Linked DNA regions of Homo sapiens: regions 1 and 2 are each linked to region 3. Evidence: promoter capture Hi-C in 16 types of primary human blood cells and fetal thymus (Javierre and others, 2016). All regions are on one chromosome and are shown on one strand. Each heading gives the region's core, a stretch centred on a gene start or on the middle of the fragment in contact. The rest is flanking DNA. Distances are from core to core; before and after follow the strand shown. Region 1 has its middle 44 kb from the start of ACKR1. Region 2 has its middle 59 kb from the start of APCS. Region 3 holds the start of OR10J1 (olfactory receptor family 10 subfamily J member 1).

The links. Contacts are between HindIII fragments. The CHiCAGO score rates a contact against its expected background, and 5 or more counts as called.
Region 1: a contact is called between a fragment that was not itself captured here and the fragment with the promoter of OR10J1 in region 3, in 1 of 17 cell types (megakaryocytes). The highest score is 5.1, in megakaryocytes.
Region 2: a contact is called between a fragment that was not itself captured here and the fragment with the promoter of OR10J1 in region 3, in 5 of 17 cell types (M2 macrophages, endothelial precursors, naive B cells and 2 more). The highest score is 7.3, in M2 macrophages.

The regions. Positions count from the first base shown.
Region 1 is chr1:159,246,986-159,249,787 of GRCh38, forward strand. No RefSeq gene overlaps it. Among named protein-coding and RNA genes, the nearest start is that of ACKR1, 44 kb to the left of the region's middle. The HindIII fragment of the contact is 161 bases long and covers 1,185-1,345 here.
Region 2 is chr1:159,645,178-159,647,877 of GRCh38, forward strand. No RefSeq gene overlaps it. Among named protein-coding and RNA genes, the nearest start is that of APCS, 59 kb to the left of the region's middle. The HindIII fragment of the contact is 873 bases long and covers 970-1,842 here.
Region 3 is chr1:159,438,436-159,441,143 of GRCh38, forward strand. It overlaps OR10J1 (olfactory receptor family 10 subfamily J member 1), which reads left to right and starts at 1,287. Exons shown (of 1, transcript NM_012351.3): 1 at 1,287-2,532. The coding sequence starts at 1,357. The coding sequence ends at 2,286. The HindIII fragment of the contact is 2,085 bases long and covers 350-2,434 here.

The sequences.
Region 1 (2,802 bases), core at 15-2,514, 190 kb before region 3:
TCTCCATCCCTGGACAGGGTCTTGGGCAAGCTTTGAGGCTGTGCTAAATGCTGTATAAACTGGATCCCACTCTTTTCCAAATTGTGCTGGGACAAGCATCTCTCTCCCTGGGTTGAGGGCCTTGTGGTAGGGTCTGAGACTAAGCCTGGAGGCTCGCCATCTAGGGATTCAAGCTAGGTAGGACTTTCCATCACTTCTGGGAGTGACCAGCTCAGCTTTGTGGGTAGGTGATGCTGTTGGCTTGTATCTCTGATCAGGTACCACCACTGGAAGGTACACAGAGCTATCAGCAAGGTTTGTTCAGTGTTCATGCTGTTACCCGCTGTACTCCTTGTGAGGTGAGACCACAGCGGGCTTCCTGGGAAGCGTCTCAGAATTCTAGGGAAGCTGGATGTCCAACTCCAGTTCTCTTTTCCCACTGTTGAAACTGAGCCTTGGGGAATCCTCTCTGTGTGGTACTTTGCTGACTCATGGAATGGGCAGGGGTGATGGGGTGATGCAATCAGTGAGGCCATTTTACTTAACCCCTTTTGTGGTCTTTATTTAGTTCTGTTGTCCACACTGTTTTCTCAAGCTTATTCTCAAGTACTGGAGTTTTCACAAAGGCATCCTTGTCTGTGGATAATTGTTAGTTGAACTTTCTATGGGGGGTAGTGAAGCCTGTGACCTCTTATTCTGCTATCTTGCTGATGTCACCAGCTAAATCTTTATTAATTAATCAATGAATAAAATATATACAGAGTGAGACAAAGGGAAAAAATTAAGCAGAAAGTATGTAGTGAGGGGAGAAGCAAAGAGGGAAGAGTTGAGTTGCCCACATGGAAGACTTATAGAACTGCTATTAGTTTATCGCACCTACTTTGAAATGAGTACGTTTGTTGTTGTATTTTGAAGTAGTAATGAATAATGTGTCAGCCACTCGTGGGGTCCAAATGTTTGGCTGCTTTATCCTCTTCTTCCTTCTCACCTATTCTTAAAATAATAATCTATAAATTGAGGTGATCCAGACATACCTCTGTCCTGAAAACCTGATGAAGCCTCACTATCGTCCAAAAAAAAAAAAAATTGCAAAACTTGGACCACCCTAAGTATTTAATTTAATATTCCCCATTTGTCTAGTATACAGATATGATAGCACAACTAGGGATACGATGGTTGTATAAAATATTTTGCCTCCCATGAAAAGCTTATATTTAAAGAGACAGCCCATCTATCCAAAAACATTAGTCAACTATTACTAGATAGTATTTGGTTAAGTGAAAGTTGAGTGAAAAAAAAAACAACAAAAAATAGAATTTAGACCCAGACTGAAGTGAGCTCAGTGTGAGCTGAAGACTTCAAATAAAGCTTCAAAGAAGAAGTGATGTTAACAGAAACTCTGAAATTATTGTATTATTTGTATTGATTTGATATTTTTCCTTGGATTTTATTCTAAGAAAAAGCTAGCCTGTGCCAAATTGCAGAGTGCCTCACAAAGTCTGAATGTATGTACCTGCCAAATCTCATGTTGAATCATGATCCCCAGTGTTGGAGGTAGGGCCTGGAGGGAGGTGTTTGGATTGTGGGGGTGGATCCCTCATGAATGGCTTAGGCTATCCCCTTGGTGATAAGCGAGCTCTTGCTCTGAGTTCCCATGAGATCTGATCATTTAAAAGTGTGTGACATCTCCTCCCCCAGCTGACTCTCTCTCTTTTCCTCCTGCTTGTGCCATGTGGAGTGCCTGTTCCCACTTTACCTTCTGCCATAATTGTGCTTCCTGAGGCCTCCCCAGAAGCTGAGCAGATGCTAGCACCATGCTTCCTGTAAAGCCTATAGAACCAATTAAACCTCTTTTCTTTATAAATTACCCAGTCTCAGGTATTTCTTTATAGCAATGCAAGAAAAGCCTAATACAGCACCCTTTAAAAAGGTAGTAAAAAATCTGGTCTTCAAAAGTAGATTAGCTGGCTTTCAGTTCCAACATGCAAAAGCTTAGAAGTCATCAGTTCCATTCTATCAACAACAGCAACAACAAAGAAGATAAATAAACAAAATTAGCAGCTTTTCATGAATACCTCAGAAAACTGAGATTGCAGGGCAAATTGCCACCCCTAAATCTGGAAAAACAGGTGAATCCAGAGAACCACATGAAGACAGCTTACTGCTGGGGAAGCCCTGGAGCCATAAACTGGAACACTTAAACAACAATTTTGACAAATTTCAGAAGGCTAATGTGAGAATTATCCTGAGAATGAGAAACTCCTAGGTGCTGCAATCTTAGGGGCACCCACATACTTTTGTGAGTTTTATCTCCAGACACCACACAGTGTTCTTATGGTGAAGAGCGGTCAGAAAAAATTCATGGCTCAGGTAGAAGGAGGGAAAGAATAACTTGTAGAATACAACCTGACTGTTCTTCATAGCAAAGACTTACTCTCCAGGGGTAAAGATTTATCAGAGCCTTATCCCACCTAGGGGAAAATAATTTCTCTCACTCTAGCCCTCTCTAGCATTCCTATTTCACCTGAGTGAGGAGAGAGGACAAGACACCCTTGTGAAGGTCACATTCCAGGAACACAGGCCCACTAAAAGAGTGAGACTTAATAATAAGATTACAGAATGCTCCTCACTCCCACACCTTACTGTCAGATCAAAAGGACTCTGGTATAAGGGTGGGTCACAGTTAAAAGAGCTGCAAGATTTAAACTCTCTCTGAAGAGGAGTACTTAGGGAATCTCAAAGTTAACAGAGTAGAATAAACAAGGATACTAGAGGAATTTAGTCTCTGGCCTCTATCGATATAGCAAACATTAAATATAGCCC
Region 2 (2,700 bases), core at 156-2,655, 210 kb after region 3:
CTTAATAATCAGAGCATCAGGAGAACTATTTTGTTGTTGATCCCAACTCTTTTTCTGGCCAGCACATTCACTGCTAAATGAACTAATAAATTAAAGGCCGTGATGGAGGATATACATGGACTTACTAGCATGGACTTCCACTCACCAAATCTGACTTGGTTACTTAATGCTAAACTCCTGACATGGAGAAAGAGAAAATGGCATTATTCTCTATCATGAATAGGGTAGCAGTTCGTCCTCAAGAATAGACATATTACGGGTTTAGATTTGTTTCCCTGCTCATCAAATATCTGTCAGCACCACCTTTGGTGGTTATACTAAATTTCTTATGCATCATTGTGGCATCCTACATAATAGTGCCTCTGACAGAGGAACACATTTCACAATGAAAGAGAGGAATAATCTGATGCCCATGGAGGGAAATGGCCAAATTATTTTCTAATTATTATGGACTTATAAAAGGCTTTTGCAATGAGATGTGTGTGTGTGTGTGTGTGTGTGTGTGTGTGTGTGTGTATGTGCCTGTGTGTATTTGTGGCTGCTGTAGAAATTTTTAAAGTTTTTTAATTTGTATATAAAATACGATAAATAAGTTTTAAAATTTGATCACTATATTATTAAATATGCAAAGATTCATTTTCACACTATCTTTAATAATTTATAATATAAAAAGACATTTTTACATTTAACAAGTGACATGCTACTTAATTTGCTTTAAGTTACATGTGTGTATCTGACTATATTATAAATAAATTCTTAAAATTGATATTATGCTTGATTTAGAACCCAAATGTAGGTCTTTGTAACACATTGTTAGATACAATCACGACAAATTTTCTATCTTAATACAGAGAACGCTTAATGTGCCACATAAGAGTTTTGATTAGCTGAATGCCACTTAAAGATTTGGTAAGATCATCTTGAGATGAATTTGCTGAATTATTGTCATTAACTTATACTTCAACATCAAGCTTCATTATGTTTCTTGTATTTATCAACAGTTCATTATGAGTATAAATTAAATAGCATGCAACTATGAATAAAATAATTTAAAACTGTTTAATGGTCAAAACTATTAAACAAGAGTTTCTGAGTACATTCATCTGATTGCCATCAGCCACAGATAATGTTCATTCTATATCTGCTCAAGAATGACAAACTGTCCCATTTCCAAAAGGCAAACTAGAAAATGTTAGTTTATTAGATACTTAGCCAAATTTCGTTACTATCTTTATCCACACAAACTTCCTTGAATACATCTATGAACCCTGGGAATTTGTGAGCCACCAGATAGGGAAGGCTGGTATACTCTACCACAAAAGTGGCATCTCATGATGCCAGCTCTGAGACACAGGCTAGGCTGCTGCCTTACAGCATGCCATTAAACTCTGACCAGTCTCACAGCCAACAACCAAGGCATGGAGGTGGGAGTGACACTTTTACCTGTTTATGCTTACCTTGACTAATTCTAAAAAGGGTTTGAGGCAGCTTGAAAAAAATTCGGGGAACATTAGTTCACAAATAAGCAAATAAGGCAATAAGGATAAAGGAAAAATAAGGGTAAATAATTAAGTGTTATAGAAATTGTAACACCTAAGGGAAGAAAACTTACACTGGAAAACACAACAAAGATTTTCCATATTTGGTACAGAGACAACCACAGGGCCACTAGAAGGAAGTTGCAGAATCTTGGCTTGTGTGATTGACTAACTCTCCACAGGAAATAGGGTTGCTATTCTGAAAAGGGAACTAAACATCTAGGGAGTCTTGGAGATCAAAGAAGAGGCTCTGACCATGTTCCCCTTTCTTTTTGCAAACACTCCTGTTTAAATTGGTGAGCCAAGCTTGGATATATTAAACTCCTACCACCAAAAACATATTAGAGCATATTAGGATCAAGTCATATATGCCTTAATGCTGCCACAACACCAAGCTGCCAGGAAAATTCTTTGTTCTATTATGCACAAATTTAAATATTAAGAGAAGACAATCCAAATTCTTAACAGGTAGTAACACTAGTTGCTCAGACCCTCAGGATTGAGGATCAACCCACCAAGAGAGAAAAATCACAATCCAATGATGTCATAAGACAAAGAGAACATAGAATTACCGAAGTTAGAAAAAAGTCAAAATTCAAGAAAGTCTTGTGACCAATAAAATAAATGAAGATTGTGGTTTCCTTTTATTTTTCCTTGCTTACTATTTGGATATAATTATCATCCCCTTTTCTTTATCTATCTAAAGAGGGATTATATTTTTTCTTCTTTTTCCTCCTCTTTCCACTGATCATTGCATATACAATGTGATTTTTGGGGGGATAACTTTATCCATAGGTGGCAGAATATTTTAGATGAATCACAAAAAACTAGAGAAATGATCATTCAAAGAGGTAGAATCGGGGAAACAGTGGCAGAGGACGTTGCCCTGAGATGCAGTAAATATGTATAACTTTGGGTTGTCGCCAAAAATGGGGCCCAGTGGTGACACCTCTCCTATCAACTGTGTTGCCTGATCACACCTGATGATATAGGGGCAGACATAGCACCCATGATGAAACAATCAAATTCTCTCTCCTATGAATCTGGAATTTTTACTGGAGAGCACAGAGACTGGCACAGAGACTGGCAGTTGAAGGCTCTGAGTCATATTCATGGCAAAGACCTAGTGAGCAGATCCACAGACTCAGTTACTAAGGATGCA
Region 3 (2,708 bases), core at 37-2,536:
AAGCATTTCTGATTTCACCATAGAGGCACCATACCACTCCGTGGCTGGACTACTACATAGTTTTTGCTCAGAAGCCTCACAGAAGACAAATGTCTTTAGACATATATTTTAGTATCAAATGATTTTCTTTATTGGAAAATATTCTCTATTGCAGCTTTACTTTCTTTTTAGCATTCTTAGTGTAAATGATTAACAGCTGGTCATCAACTTCTTTTAAATAGATTTTTATGAACTTGAAGAAAGTCTCCGTGCGTACTAACCTTCATCATTGATGTGATTTACTTTATGCAAAACTTCTCTTTCTGAATATGCATAAGCAAATCAGAATATAATTTAAATACCCTAGAGAAGCTTACTGTTTAAAGAGATAAAAATGTGAAATATTACATAAATTGAACTGATCCCCTTCCTTCAACAAAATGATGTATCTTTGGTGTAGCTGTTTTTTTATATTCAGGGTTTGCTTTTGCTTTAGGTGAGGGACACTTAAATTTGCTGTATCTTTCCTGATACAATTGTTTATCTCTGCAGAGTGGGTGTAGGCTTACTCACAAAGTTGTATTGGCTATAAATTTGCCTTCTAGTTTAGGGAAGGTAAAGATGTAGCATAGTTTATAACATACGTGAATCAGTGCTCTGAACTGTCAGCAGACTTCCATCACTCAGACAGAAGTGGGGAGAGGCTGGTGGTTGGCTAAGATTTTCCTTTTTCTTCTTGAAGACAAGATGAACCTTTCTACTTTGCTTCTAATTCTTAAAGGATGCGCAAGGAGGATGATTCATAGTCTTGAAAGAAAAGACATCACTAGTCCATCCCTAAACAAATTATTTTCAAGCACCCAATCCATGCATAATTTGGAGCTAGTGAAATATGAAAAGATGTAAAAGGTATTATAAAGTTGCTAAGTGTTTGTATGAGGTGAGGCAGCAATAATGGGGTAAAAATAATCCAAATAAACATGAGAACCTCTGAGTGTAATACGGTTTTATGAAGGCCTGAAAATGTGCACTCATCTCTGAAGAGTAGGAAAGAAATAAGAGGAGAAAAGAGAAGCCATTCCAGATGTCAGGGAGGAAGAGTAGATATGAAGTAGGAGCATGTATGGTTATACAGTGAAAAAGTGAGACTATATGATTCTATGATGCATGGAAAATTATAACAGATGGTCACAGAGTAAAAATATTTTAAGTAAAGATAAGTAAACCCAGGGATTAACTTAATCCACTAGGAAATACATCACCAGATTTGTAACTGAGAACTATTGAACTTCAATCAATTTCAGAAATGTGCTTCTACTGCTTTACTGGGACTATGTGACTTTTATGCTTTTATGTTTCAGATTTGGGAACCAATCCATGAAAAGAGAGAACTTTACTCTCATCACTGACTTTGTTTTCCAAGGTTTCTCTAGCTTCCATGAGCAGCAGATCACCCTTTTTGGCGTGTTCCTTGCACTATACATCTTAACCTTAGCAGGCAATATCATCATTGTGACCATCATCCGAATGGATCTTCATCTTCACACACCCATGTACTTCTTCCTGAGCATGCTGTCCACTTCAGAGACTGTATATACATTGGTCATTCTCCCAAGAATGCTCTCCAGCCTCGTAGGTATGAGCCAGCCCATATCATTGGCAGGGTGTGCCACACAGATGTTCTTTTTTGTAACCTTTGGCATCACTAACTGCTTCCTGCTCACAGCAATGGGATATGACCGCTATGTGGCCATCTGCAACCCCCTGAGATACATGGTTATTATGAACAAGAGGCTGCGTATCCAACTTGTCCTGGGGGCCTGCAGCATTGGGCTGATTGTAGCAATAACGCAAGTGACATCTGTATTCAGGTTACCCTTCTGTGCTAGAAAGGTGCCCCACTTCTTCTGTGACATCCGCCCTGTGATGAAGCTCTCCTGCATTGACACCACTGTCAATGAAATCCTGACTTTGATTATCAGTGTGCTGGTGCTTGTTGTACCTATGGGTCTGGTTTTCATTTCTTATGTTCTCATTATCTCTACAATCCTCAAGATTGCTTCAGTTGAGGGCCGGAAGAAGGCTTTTGCCACCTGTGCATCCCACCTCACTGTGGTCATTGTCCACTACAGCTGTGCCTCCATTGCCTACCTCAAGCCCAAGTCAGAGAACACCAGAGAACATGACCAGCTGATCTCGGTGACCTACACTGTCATCACTCCCCTACTGAACCCTGTGGTATACACCCTGAGAAATAAAGAGGTCAAAGATGCTCTGTGCAGGGCTGTTGGTGGGAAGTTTTCCTGACCATGTAGGAAGAGTTCTCCTGAGGCTGTCAACATCCACACTAGGCAGGAATATGAGGTGTAAACTCACAAACACTTGGCTCCTAGAGACCTGCCCCTTAAATAAGAGGCAAAAGAGGAATAGCAGTTTCATACAACTGGGAGTCTGAAGCTTTAAATAAAGTTACTGGATGGAGTGTTATCCCTATTTTTGGGGATAAATAGACAAACAAGGATAAGATATGCCTAAATAAAAGGCCAGAAAGTAGTATGGGCTGAGAATTTTTTACTGACCTTTTGGTTTCTTTGTGAATCTCCACCTAATGAAGGCAATAGAAAGCCCCTTGAGAAAATAGAATCCAAGACACACTTAAAATCTTTTTCCTATAATCCCTTTCTTCCTATACTAGAGCACCAGGGCTTCTGAAACTGGATTCCCTATTG